2 separate regions of the Homo sapiens genome follow, and region 1 is linked to region 2. The links are contacts of gene promoters, found by promoter capture Hi-C in blood cells and fetal thymus (Javierre and others, 2016). All regions are on one chromosome and are shown on one strand. Each heading gives the region's core, a stretch centred on a gene start or on the middle of the fragment in contact. The rest is flanking DNA. Distances are from core to core; before and after follow the strand shown. Region 1 holds the start of BAHD1 (bromo adjacent homology domain containing 1). Region 2 holds the start of BUB1B (BUB1 mitotic checkpoint serine/threonine kinase B).

Region 1 (6,798 bases), core at 1,719-4,218, 280 kb before region 2:
GGGCGGCGGGGGCCGGGCTCCGGGATCCGCTACGCCGCTCGCGGTTCCCCCACAAACTCCCCGAGAGCGGAGCCTCCGCCGCCCTCCTTCCTGCTTCCTCGTCCCCAGCCAATCAGCAGCGCGCCCCTCGGCCAGCTCCGCCAATCAGCCGCCCCGCCCTGCGCTGGCTCCGCCAGCCAATCCGGCCCTCGGCTCCCCCTCCCGGTCTCTGACCAATCAGAACCGTGGGTCGGTCGTCCCAACGCAGGGGGCAGCACGAGGCGGCCGGGGGAGGCGGTGCGGGGAGTGGTGGGGCCTTGGGGGAGGGGTGCCGTGCCAAGGGTGGTGGCAAGGGGTGATTTTCTTTGCCGGCTTCTTGGATTTTTCTCTTCGTCTTCAGAACCTGAGCCCGTATCCCACGGTGACTCGACCCCAATCTCCCAGCTGCTAGCCCCCCCGGAAAAATCTTATCTCCCCCCGCCCTGGCCATCACCCCTCCGCATCCCCTTTCCCCCAAATCCTCCCCAGCACGCGCTGGAGAAAACTGCGGGCCGAGGAACACCCCATCCTCGCCGGAGGCTGCTGCCCCCAGGGCAAAGCTTCAGGAAGACCAGCCGAAAATCAAGCGAGAACAACCCCCCTTTCCTGCAGAAAGGGCCCCAGACTCCTGCAAAAGGGCCCCGACTGCTGAGAAGCCCCTCCCGCCCTTGCCTCATCTTTCCGACTTCCCTGCCTGCCACGTCTCCTTTCCTTTCCAGCAAGGTCGGTCCTGGCTCGGTAACCCCTCACCCGCATCTCTTTTTCCTCTTTCTGCCCTTCACCTACCGCCCCCAACCCCAGCTCCTAATTCACCCTCTTCAGAAGCAGAGTGTGGAGCCCTCATCCATTTCCAGCTGACAGCAGAGCCTGGTCTGTGAGTCCTTGACACCCACACACCCTCTTCCACCACCGCGGGGAACATCAGAGCTCTCCGGGGGAGGGAGAAAGGGGCGGGCAGCCTGACAGGAGCGGCTGGACTCCCTCCCTCGCGTCCCCAAGCTACGGGAGAACCAAGTGTAGACACTTACCTGGCTTCCCCCTAGTCACCAAATGCTGTGGCTCCGTCTCTCACCCCCACAGACGTGCCCTCCCAAGCCCGAGCACGCTCGCGGGGTCAGTGGGGTGGGTGGGCACAGCAGGCTAAGGGCACAGAGAGAGATGGGAAGTCCCTGTTAGGTGCGGGAAGGAGCTGTGTCTTGGGCACCTGGTGGTGCCAGAGCCCGCCTAGGACTTCACTAAGCCCGGGATATGCACACAGTAGGTTCTCGAGAAATGCTGAGTTCACCCCTGAACAAAGCCTCATTCCCAATTCAGGCGGGGGAGGGGAGCTTTAGGAGGTAAAAGGAGCAGCGGCAGAAAGGGTAGTGTCAAGTCACCAGAGCGCTGGAGCAGCCCAGGGAGGGGCTGGGCCCCAGGAACGCCTTGGGCAGAGAGAGGCACCCAGAGTGCTGAGGCTGCCCAGGCAAGCAAGGAAAACCCAGCCTTGGAGTGTGGCCCAGGGGCTTCGGAGGGGCTCCTCCTGCACCACACACAGCGCCCAGCCTTTCCTAGACCTTGGGACTCCAGCGCTCACCCAGGCAGCCTTTTAAGACAATCAGGGCTGCTAGCCAATATGGCTGGGAAACAACCTCCCCCAGAAGCAGTTCCCCATCTGCCTCCAGAGCTGTCCAGGGGGCCCAGACTGTCTTAGCTGTTTGGGGGGACACACTTAAAGGAGGGGCCCCCTCAGCAGGGAAAGTGTGTGAATGGAAGCTAAAAGCTAAAACTGTGGCACGGAAATGTCTCGAAGGTCCAGGTTCTCCCACTGCCACTTCTCCCACCTCCCACCCTTGGGGAAAGCAAAACCCCAAAGCTGTAAAAGTAGGACGCTGAAAGATTTCTCCCCTTCCTGGACAGGACAGAGGTTCCCGGCAGCGCCCCCCCAACACACACCAGGCCAGCCCTACTCCCCACCTCACAGAATTCCCCCTCTCCCTGTCCCAGTCTGGCCCATAGGCAAATTAACCCCACGGTGGCCCCCACTCGTCAGAGATTGGTGGTGGAGGGTACAGCAGTGGTGGCCACGGGGGCAGAGCCATGCTACAGGCCAAGACAGAAGAGAGGCCGGGCTCCTGTCTGCAGCCCAGGCGGCGCTGACCTTGGCAGCCACTTCAGGCCTGATAATGGGCAGGGATGGAGGCCGGGAGGGCCAGAAGAGGAATGTACCTGGTGGCAGGGAAGGAGACCTAAGTGGCAGGAAGCCCACGTTCAGCCGAGGAAATGGCAGCAGGACGAGGTGGCAGGATTGGGTGTCTTCCTGGTGTTGGCATTAGAGGGCCCTGGGGTGAGCAGGGGAGTGTTGTCTTATCTGGGGTCTCAGTGGGAGGGAAAGGAAGGAATACCAACCGGAGAGGAGGCAGAGTAGTCATGACAGCCCACCAAGTGCCTGCCTGGCCGCTGGAGGAGTTCTCCCCTCAGAGCCTCCAGTGTGGGTGGCGGTGTCCGCTGCCCCAGGAGGCTCTGACTGAGTGGGCTATGGTGCGGGGACACGGGCTGGCTAAAGGCACTAAGTGTTCCTCCTGTGCCAGCTCACTGAGCCACCTCTGTCCCCCCTTCCTCCCTATTGCTTGTTAAAACAAGCCAGCAAAGAATAGGCAGGGGCTACACCCTGCCTGTCCCCCAAAGGGAACTTTTGGCCTCTCCTAGCCTCCTTCACCCAACTTTCAGGGACCTCTGCAACTGGGCCTCCTTCTTTCCCAGTCCAAAGCCCTTCCACAGCTGGAAAGGGCTCCACCTCTTCCTCCTTCCTTCGGTCCTGTAACCTTTCCTGAGTGAATGCTGCCTCCACCCCACTTCACTGGGCAGCTGTGCCAACGCCTGGGGCCCATCACCTTTCCTCTCCCTGGTATGTTTGGCAGCCCAGAGGTCTCCCACTGAAAAAAGGGTTTGGCACTTGGTGTAGAAAGAGGAATGGGTCCATCGGGTCTCCGGAGTCTTTCCCGGGCTGCTGCCAGGCAGGGGCTCTCTCTCCCCAGACACCTCCAGACCCATCGGGAAGGGTTAACTGCCTCAGAGGGAGATGCCCTAGAGTAAAACATCCAGGGCCAGAGAGACCACGCGGCGCACCCTTCCCCCACCACACACAACCAGACTGACAGCCGGGACAGACTGGCTGCTCGGTCATCTCCAGCCCAGCCCCAGCACCTCCCCGCCACTGCCCGCTGCAGTCCCCGAAGACCGCCTGGCCTGAGATCCAACCACCTGGCACCAGGCAGGGCACCCCAACGGCAGTGCAGTCCCTGCAGTGGTGGCAGTGACCACTTTCTCCTCCCTCCAGCCCCTGCCCAGGTCCCACCTTCTTTCCTGGAAGTGGGGCAGCCCCTGTCCCAACCCCCAGAGCACCTGAAGTCTAGGTCCCCACAATACTTACTGAGCCACCCGGCTCCTCAGCCCCACTGGACGAACTGAAGGGCACAGCTCTTTGGGGGAGGGACACCAAGGCAACAATTAAATGCGGCAGCAGCACTTGCCCCCTCCCCCATCATAGGAAGCCCCTGGGGGGTGGGGGAATAAAGAAAGCTGGACTTTTATAGTCCTTTTGCTGTGACCCACTCCCTCTTAAAGGGATTGGAACACCCCTCCTTAAAGGGATCTCCAGAAATTATTTGCCCCCCAGGCAAATCCTAGTGCAGAAGTCTGGTCTTTACCTGCGGGGGCCCTCTTCCCTAGGGATGAGGAGGTAGAAGTGCTCCTCCTGACTCTTGAGCTGGAGGGGCAAGGTACCCTCCTACCACCAAGGAGCCAGCTGTTGAGTGCCCAGTGAGGAACAGGACCTCTCCCTCCCCTGAAGGCAACTACGGCCCCGGCCTTGGGGGTGGGGAGGTCCCGGTGAGGTAGGGACTGTGTGGGACTCAGTCTCCGCACAAGAAGGAACAAGGGGGCTGCATGCGCTCAGACTTTGGGGAACACATGTCCATGGCGCTGTGTCCAAAACCCCCATCTGCCCAGCGCTAGCCTCCAGATTGCCGGCCAGGGGACGTCTTTGCAGTCTGCCTCTCCCCGTAAAAGCTGTTTCTGCATTCTCCTTCCCGCTCTCTGAATCCCGTCTCCTACCCTCTTTGGGGCCCTATGCCTTTCTCTTGGGGTGCATTCTCTGCCCCTCACCCCAGTCGCCTCCTCCGCAGCCCCAACAACTGCGGGCTACACCCTATTTCAGGCTGTCTCCAGACCTAATCGGAGTGTCCCCGGGGTCCTTCTCACCCCGCCCACACCCCCGACTACCGTCAAGTGGTGGGGGATGGGCACCCCCCAGGCTCCCGGGAGCCCAGCAGAGTCGCATCTTAGCCCTTGGGCTCACTTGGTCCCCAGTCTCACCCTGCCTCTGGGACTGCAGAGTTCAAGGAGGGGGTGGGTGTAAGTGGGGGAGGAGGTGTCCGAGGGTACTGCAGCCTGAGAGAGGGACAGAGTCGGAAGTGGGCACTCACTGAGGCCACCCCCCCTCTGCCCCTCCTCCCTTCGCTGGGGGAGGGTCGACGCTGCCGGGGGGAGAGGTTCCCCGGCGCTCAGGAGCCCTCCAAGGCCCCCACCCCTACCACTCCCTAGAGGAAAGACTCCCCCAAGGGCTGGAGCTCCAAGCCCTCCCCCCGGCAGCTGCGGCAGCCTCCGGCTGAGGTCAGGCTCCACCTCCTTTCTCCAGAGGGAGAGCGTGGAGGGTTGTTTGTTGTTGGGGTGTGAGAGAGAGAAGGTTCGAGATCACCTGGCCCGGTGGGCACGGCTCCGGAGCGGGAGCGGGAGCGGGAGCTGGGCCGGGTGGGCTGGCTTGGGCAGGAGCCCGCCGCAAGGGCGAAGGACTCCCCTCGCCCACCCCCAACCCCGGCTCCGAGCCCGCGGCCTGGGCGCCCCCTCGTCGCGCCCCCGCCCGGCTCTCCGGCCCGCGTAGGGTGCCAGGACGCCCCAGGCAGAGGGCCTGCCTTAGGGTTACCACGGGGAGCCAGGCTTTCCTGCTCTCCAGGAGCCTGCAGTCGGAGGCTGGGATGGGCTGGGGCTAGAGAGACAAGTAGACAGAAAACAGAGTGATAACTTTATGACAGCAACACGTAATGGCTGCTGAGGACGAGGGAAGGCTGCCAGGGTCTGCCCCTGGCAAGGGGCTGGGGTGAGGTGCGGGGACGTTCCAAGAAGGGGCTAAGCCGAGAGCGGAGCCTGAAGGAGCAGGCACTCTTCGGGCAGGCTGCCATAGGTAGGGGAAAGATGAGGACACCCCAAGCGCCGAGTACCAGTTTCAGCAAAGGTGCAGAGCTGTGGTATAGGGGTGAGGCAGCAGATGAGGCTGGAGAAGTGGGTAGGGCCACCTAAGCTTTGTAAACCCTGCCAAGGAGCTCTGTCCCAAAGACGTTGGAGAACATAGAAGGATTTTGAGGAAAGGAAGCTTCTGGTCTGAGATCCAAGAGGCGAGTTGGGGGAGCAGCACGCGGGGTGTGAGTTCAGGCAGGAGGATCTTGCATCTCAGTTCCCTCGCAGTGCTCACCTGCTCCAGGGACGTCTGACCTCGGGTCTCGCCCTCCCTCCCAGGTGGGTGTTGGGCGGAAAAGGTCTGCCCTAGGGGAAAGAGAGCCCTCTTTTAGCGCTGTCCACAACCCCAGCGGCTCCTGCCTGCCAACCAGGAGCTCTACCATCTCTTTCCCCGGGGAAGAAATGGAGAGACCCCCATGCTCCACTCCTCCCTCACTCGCTAAGATAGGCAGCCCTCCCAGAATCCGTGTCATTTCCGGAGCAGCAACAAGAAAGACAAACATGGGGACGAGCTTCGCTTCACCCTCCAGGTGCTTTTTCCCCCACCCCAGGTGGTGCACATTTCTCATAAAAACCATATAGGAACAGGGGCAAACGACATCCTATATTGGTTTCTCATTCTCGCCCCAATCTCAGTAGGTATATGCAATTACTATCGCCATTTCACAAATTAGGAAATTGAGGCTTAGGGCCATTAATGCCTGGCCTGAGCCACACAGGCAGGGCTTATACCCTAGCCGGAATTGTACCACTTGCCCAAGCCCCCAACACTGACTTCTGCAAGCTTGGAGAGGCTGACCCCACTGGACTTCTGAGGCCAGGGATGGCCAGGTTCAATAGTAAGGGGTGTGAGGGTGTCAGTGAAGCCTCATGCTATAGCCCTGCCCTTTCCTGTGAGCCTCTTCCCATGACACCGGGAAGCAGATTCCCTGGGGCTTTTCTTTGGGGTCTCCAGCATAGGTCGTGCCCATTCATATTTGTTTATGGATCTCCCAGAGTCCTCCAGAATCCTCATACTCACAGTCCAAGCCTGACTTCCTGGAAAGGTCTCCCGAAGCTCAGGTGAAACTCTCCTGAAGCTCAATTCCACCTTGCTCCCTGCTGCCCTGAACTCTATGCACTCCAAGTTGTCTCCTCCTCACACATTCCTGACCATCTGCTGCTTTGCCCGTAAGTCTTTATTTATAAGATTATAAACCCCTGGAGGGCAGGCCTATGGCTTTAACATCCTCTTTATGGCTTCCTGTGTGTCTAGCACAGTCCTGGCCCCAAGGAAGGATGGCATTCTAGGTCTCTCATAACCTGGCCCCAGGACATACAGCCCTCTACCTCTCCCCTTTCACAGGCACACTTAGGGCTCCCAAACTAATAGCCTTTGAGCAAAAGTAAGCAGGCAGACAAGTTCCATTTAACTGTCTATGGGGCTTTCAAAAAAGATTAAAATTAGGGGCCAATGCTGAAATTTTTGGAGATTCAAAATAAAAATCCAGGTTTACAGTTTCTCTTGAA
Region 2 (7,052 bases), core at 2,488-4,987:
GCATGGCTATGTGCGGTGGCTCACACCTGTAATCCCACCACTTTGTGAGGCCGAAGTGGGAGGATTTCTTGAGCCAGGAGTTTGATACCAGCCTGGGCAACATAGCAAGACCCTGCCTCTTTCTTTAAAAAAAAAAAAAAAAAGAAAAATGAATAGGGCTTAAGGCAGAAAGAAAAGAAGGGAACAAAAGTGTTATAAATTTGGCAAAGTAGACAAAAAGGCAACAAGTAATTCTATGCCTACCATTGAATGCATCATCTAGTTTAATTTAAAATTAGTGCCGGATGTGGTAGCTCATGCCTGTAATCCTACCACTTTGGGAGGCTGAGTCAGGAGAAGTGCTTGAGCCCAGGAGTTCAACACCACCCTGGGCAACATAGGAAGACCCCCATCTCTACAAAAAGTGAAAAATTAGCCAGGCGTGGTGGTACACGCCCATGGTCGTGGCTACTTAGAAGACTGAGGTGGGAGCATTGCTTGGGTTCAGGGGTCGAAGCTGCAGTGAGCCATGATCACACCACTGCACTGCAGCCTGGGCAACAGAGCAAGACCCTGTCTCAAAAAAAAAACATTAAAATTAGCAAAGTGTGGGTGAGACTAATGTCCCATGTTTCAATGATGATTCAAAACTGAAGTTTGTACATATAAGTAGCTAAAAGCAGAAGCAAACAAACACAGTTTACTAGTCACAATTCCCTGCATCCTCACACCCAATTCTAGCAAGCCTACTGAGAAAACCCCCGAAACGTTTTGGAGGTAATTCCCATTACGTATTCTGCAATTCAGAGCCCTGCAATGGTTAGATAGAAGACTATTTCTAAGAGACATTACCTCTGGACTTAAAACAAAAAGAGAGACACATTGGCACTAATCTTTGAAATAGAGTGAAAGTTATATGTGACTTCAGTCTAGATGAGCACTGAAAACTCGTTGGAGACAGCTTCTTGGAAACTATGACTTTAATCAAAATGACATGTAACAAAACCAATTTTACCACAGGCTGATCGACATAAACAAAAGTTAAGTTCCTATGGCATATTTCTGGTCACAAAAACGTCACCAAACTTCTGAATAAAGACTCGAAACAAACATTTTTAATACTAAATATTGAAATAAATGTGAGCTATCCGTACACTTAAGAACATTTAATGAAAACAAAAAATAATCATTTACCCAATTTTTGGCGAATCAGTGAATGACTGCAGTCATAGTGTTGGTGGGTTAACTCAAGGAATAAATGTTTGAGAGTGAAAATTTCAAGAAGTACCTCCTACCACCACAAAGTTCAAAAAACAAATAGTAACACTATAGTGGGCATGCTGGGCACTTTCATAAGGCATTGTTTATTGTCATGCATTTATATGATTATCATACACACTTTATATAAACTTTTTAAATAGAGACAGGCCTTACTATGTTGCCCAGGCTGGTCTTGAACCGCTGAGCTTAAGCAATCCTGTTGCCTCAGCCTCCCGAAGTGCTGGGATTACAGGTGTGAGCCACCGCTCCCAGCCTTTACAGATTTTTATTTTACAGTAATTTGTATTCATTCCTTCATTCATTTTCCAACTCACTTATTCTAGTTCGGGGTTGAGGGTGGCCAGAGCCCATCTCAGCAACTCAGAGAGGAACCAACCCTGGACAGGACACCACTCCATCACAGGGAGCATCACATTCACACCCATTCAGACTGGGATCATTTAGACACGCCAATTAACAGGCACATCTTTGGGATGTAGAAGGAAACTGGAGTACCTAAGGAAACCCATGCAGACATGCGGAAAACATGAAAACTCCACATACACAGCAGCCCCGCAATGAATTGATTTTTTTTCTCATCAACATTATAACGAAACGATGTTATACCAGGACCTGCTCTATATTGTGTGAACTCTGTAAAGGTAAGGGCTATGCCATTTATTTTTGTATGCCCATGATCTAATACGAGATATAACACTATTATGCCCTGTTTGTTGAATTCATCTGAACTTTCTTCTCTTGCTCTTAAAAATAGTGAATTACACTATCTCAGTTAAATATCCCAAATTGAGCTAAGACTGCCCCCACTTCCTCCCAGACCTGCTCCTCCCACAGTCTTCCTCTTTCTCAAATAAATGGCAATCCCATTCTTCAGTTACCCAAGCCAAAAATCTTAGTGCCAACTTTGATGCCCTTCTCATACCCCTCAGTCAGTCAGCAAGTCCTACTGGTTCTACCTTCAAAATATATACAGAAATCAACCACTTATCATCATCTCCACTGTTTTCCACCTGGCTCAACTCACTTTTGAGCTGAATTATTTCAATAACCTCTTAACTGGTGTCCCTTGCTTCCATCCTTTGCTGCCTTTAGTGTATTCAACACTACAGCCAAAGTGACCCCATTTAAACCCAAGTCAGATTATGTCTTTCCTTTGCTCAAAACCTTCCAATGACTTTTGATTACAACTAGAGTAAAAGCTAAGTCCTTACAATCTGCATCTTCACCATTTTTACATAATATCCTTTTACTCTTCTAGTTAATTCTGCTCCAGTGACAATGGCCTTGGACATGCCAGGTGCAACTTCCTCCCCTAGCTCTCACCCTCAGCCTTTGTACTCTCCTCAGATATAGAACCTCTAGCTTTTGAGATTCCTTCAAGTCTTGACCAAAGTGACATCTCCTCAGTGAGACTCCAGTGTTCAAGTTAAATTGCACCAATCCCCACCCCCAATATTCACTACACCCAGTTGCTTTATTATTTTTTTTAGTACTGACCACATCTCCACCTAACAGTTTGTCTTTATTGTCTGACTCCCCCACCTTCATCCCATGCCAGAACTTAAGCTTCATGAGGGTTGAGATTTTTGTGTCTGTATATTTGCTGCACTCAGAGCTTAGCCAAAAAAATACTTGTTACATGAATGAAAGAGCCCATGACATAGCACTTATCTAGGTATTGCGGGCACCACAGTGAAAACACATACAGATTTCCAACCTAGAACTGCAATATAGTTTTTTTAATACAAGGAAAAGCCGCAAACATGCAGAAAAAGGCTTTTAGATCTCTATGTTATTGGCATAATTTAGATCTCTATGATATTGGCTAAAGGCTTTCAGATCTCTGTGCTATTGGCATAGCACCTGCCATTTGTTGAGCGCTTATTTGGAAGCAGTTACTTAACAAATACTTTGAATTCCCCCAGAACCACGTAAGGCAGCATTAACATCAGCATTTTCCATACAAACGATTTGCCCAAGGTCAAACAACTAGCAGGTGGCTGAGCTGAGTTACAAACAGACAACATTGCAACTTCCAAACTCTTTGTTCCGCTGGGGTCCCGCAGCCTTCTTCGCTTTGAAGCTGGATGCGGCAGGATTCGCACGTGCCCTCAGTCCACTGCGTTTTCACCTCCACCTCCGGCATTCTACTCCAAAAGGAAGGAGGCTCCGGTGGGGTCTGTTCTGACGGTGCCGATCTCCCCCTCGACTGCTCCGAGCGGAGCCTTCTATTACCTACCAGGCCGTGTCCTCTCAGGCCCAGCCCCCAGCAGCTTTCTCCCGTACCTACCTCAGAGCACCCCCTTCCTTCTTCACCGCCGCCATCCTGCATTCCTGGCTCAGGTCCTCGTCCTGCTGCAGGCCTTTCCTCTGGGCCACAGACCGCCTGGGCTTTCTTCCGCAACCTGCCCTCGGAGCTACAGAAGCGACCAAGGCACGTACACGACTCCCTAACAAACCGGCCACCTCAAGCCCACACCCCTAGCCGCCAAGTTTCAAATTTAACGGTCCCGCGCGGTCGACGTGGCCACGCCCCTCCGCTCCTCCGTGCTCTCGCGTCTCGCCCAAGGCATTCTGGGGCTTGTAGTTTATGCCTGTTTAGTCCGCGAACTCGCGGTGCATAATGGGAATTGTAGTTTTTGGGATTCAATGGCCGTGGAAGTGCAGCAGGCTTAGGCAAAACAAATACCCCCAGGTGCTGTCTTGAGTCGCGGCTCGAAGCCGAGTCTCTGAGCCGAGCGAGGAACACTTAAAGCACCAGAACTTCTTTGCTGTTTTGAGTGTTGGGAGATGTCTCTGAGTGCTTGCACTTGGCGTGACTCTTGTAGGGTGACTACCCCTGCTGTCTGCCCCAAATCTCACCCGTCCGGAGTTCTTAGGCCACTGACCTAGCTGTTTCCTGCCCCACCCTTGAATTCAAAAAGCTGGATTCTAGTTCTGTAAAATCATACCAAATGTGCAACCTTAGGCAAGCTACATAATCTTTCTGACCATCAGTTTTCCTCATCTATAAAGTGATGATACTGTCTTGCTTTCTCTTCTGCTCAGTCCACAAGCAGTAAACACAGCCATGCTATGGTTCCCAAGGTGTTACCTCTTTTCCCCTTCAGGGGACTAGCCTTGACTGACATTAAACTGTTTGTTGCAATTTCAATTTTCTGAGGAAGAAATTGTGATAGCTCAGATGTGACCAGGGGAGTAGAGTCTTTTTGTTTGTTTGGTTGGTTGGTTTTGTTTTAGAGACAGGGTCTTCTTCTTGCTCTGTTGCCCAGGCTGGAGTGCAGTAGCCCCATCATGGGGCTACTGCATTCCAGCCTCCAACTCCCGGGGTCAAGTGATCCTCCCACCTCAGCCTCCGCAGTAGCTGCGATTACAGGCATTAGCCACCTTGAGGAAGGAACAGGGTCATTTAAGAAAGCCCAGGTACAGGGGAGTTCTCCTTTATGACTGTGGGGATGGTCAGAGAGGTGGCACTTCCCAGAGGCAGATGCTGAGGATACTGTCCACTACCCTCTGGTTCTTAGTTCCCAGCTTTCTGTCTTTGTTCATGTTATATAAGTCCTTCTTTCCTCTGAATCATCAGGACTCTTGATTCCAAAGAAGTAGAAATCCAACTTAAATCGGCCTACTCAGAAAAGGGAATTTACTGTCTTTTATATATAAAAGACTTCAGATAAAGCTTAACCCAGGACTCATGTGGACTGGGCCTCTCTCCATTTCTCGCCTCTACTCTTGTTGTTGGCTTATTGTCATTCTCCATTGGGTAACAGATTCACGACTTTATCCTTACAGGTTCAAATTCAGACTTAGGAGTCACCCTGCTTAACCCCTTCCTCCCAAACAGTCACTGGGGATAGTGGATTCAGGGCTTTGATTGTTCAGAACCAAGTCATGTGTTTCACCTTGGGACTGAGAGAGGGGAAGGGGTGATTCCTCATAGGAAATTTTGGTTACTCTTTACATCAAAGTCCTCCACATCCAGGAAGCTTTCCTGGATCATATGAGGTGTGGTGCGTGGGATTCTCTCACTGGCTCATTTTATCTCTTACCTTATGTCAGTACTGGCCTAGCACTTCATTTTCTTTCAACAGGGTGTCCTGTTCATATCTACAGCTTCTCAATTTTGACTATTTCCTACAAACAATCTTGGAAACGTAGTGTTTGGTCTTTTGATCTCAGTCTTTCCTATAACCTAGTCGGATTCCCCATAAACTCTGCTACGATGTAGAATGCATTCAGGCTAAACCCCTTGCTTGTTTCACTACGGGAAAAGAAGGAGGTAGGTAAAACAAAACTCCAAAATGTATGACAGAAGGTACTCTGTGGTTTAATTTGGAAAATGAGTTTTTAGGGATGTCCCATGAACTGATGGGTGGAGCTCCCAGCAAGCAAGGTTTGCCTTTGAGGAAGAGGAATGCTGAAAGCAGCAGGGTTTGTCTGTGGACTTGGGGGAACTGGAGTGAGTGGGGCACAGGATATCCACCTTGGATTGTGACCCTTTGTTGGCCTGGTCCCAAGGACTTACGGTTTTGTGGAGTGAGGGCCTGAGGCAGTGGCCTTAAGAGCTGGTTCTATGTACTTTGGAAGGCTGAGGCGGGCGGATCACTTAAGGTCAGGAGTTCAAGACTAGCCTGGCCAACATGGTGAAACCCCGTCCTACTAAAAATACAAAAATTAGCTGGGTGTGGTGGTGCATGCCTGTAATCCCAGCTACTCCGGAGGCTGAGGCAGGAGAATCGCTTGAACCCGGGATGCGGGGGTTGCAGTGAGCTGTGATCATGCCACTGCACTCCAGCCTGGGCAACAGAGTGAGACTGTCTCTAAAAAGGAAAAAAAAAAAGCTGGTTCAGTGTGATGCCAGCCTCCAACAGCACTGCCTTCGTGCCCAGGCGCCGAGGGCACAGCCTCACTTGGCCATTCTGAGAGCACAGGGAGGCCCTCCCTGGAGCCAGACATCAGCACCCCACAGTGGACACCAGCAGAAGCAAGATGTCCTCCAGTAGCCTTGGAGACAGAGGCCATCAACCAGAGAGAGCTTGAGCAGGACAGGAGGAACATGGCAGATGCTCTGAAAACACCCAGACCACCTAGGGAAGGCTTCAAAAGGAGGGACTCATTCAGTGCCACACATACAGTTGCATAAATATTGCTGCATCCGAGAGTGCCTGTCACGCAAATGGGGACATTTTTCTGCTTTTTCTACTCAGAGAAGGCACCTTCAAAAGTGCCCAGAGAGGCCTCCTCTCTCTAATTCACACAAAGCCCTGTGTGCAGCGGCCCTGGGGCCCTATGGAAGAGCCAATGGGATTCTCCTGACTAGTGCATGTGACTCCATAGGTCTGAGGCCTGAGGAAATGGGTTACATAATGTTCTGTCCTTATTTCAGGAGGTGACAATTCTAAGATAGCTGAATGGGGGTAGGGATGGCTCCTGGCAGAGCCAATCCATTGTGGGGACACTTGCAGGAGAATGGAGTGTCTGTGGGTGGATATGTCTGAGCCGCCATTGCTTTTCTGCCAGGCAGGCTTCCTCACTTCCTCTCTGACATTGCCTCCTGGGTCTTGGTGCAAACTGTGGAAAGTTTGCTTCTTCCCTTCTCGGGGGCCCAGCTGGGAGCTACTCCTGCAGATCTGGACTCTGCATTGCTTTTCCAAAGAAAGGCCAGAGGTCAGAGGCCCCCAGGCTGGGAGGGGCCAAATGATTGGAAACAACTTAACTTCGCTGAATGTGGGAACTAAGTTGGCTACAGCTAGGTGCGAGAAGATTGTTAGAATTAAGAGAGGTGACAGCTG

The links. The method cuts DNA at HindIII sites, captures the fragments that hold promoters and counts their contacts. A CHiCAGO score of 5 or more calls a contact.
Region 1: a fragment that was not itself captured here is called in contact with the fragment with the promoter of BUB1B in region 2 in 1 of 17 cell types (fetal thymus); the score reaches 5.5 in fetal thymus.

Annotation. Positions count from the first base shown.
Region 1 is chr15:40,434,214-40,441,011 of GRCh38, reverse strand. It overlaps BAHD1 (bromo adjacent homology domain containing 1), which reads right to left and starts at 59. Exons shown (of 7, transcript NM_014952.5): 1 at 1-59. It also overlaps a transcript of IVD not described here. RefSeq lists enhancers at 1-10, 816-1,353, 3,505-4,042, 4,043-4,581 and silencers at 72-257, 1-353. The HindIII fragment of the contact is 4,775 bases long and covers 581-5,355 here.
Region 2 is chr15:40,157,754-40,164,805 of GRCh38, reverse strand. It overlaps BUB1B (BUB1 mitotic checkpoint serine/threonine kinase B), which reads right to left and starts at 3,737. Exons shown (of 23, transcript NM_001211.6): 1 at 3,551-3,737. The coding sequence starts at 3,585. RefSeq lists enhancers at 2,582-3,346, 3,354-3,483, 3,504-3,603, 6,477-7,052. The HindIII fragment of the contact is 2,113 bases long and covers 2,829-4,941 here.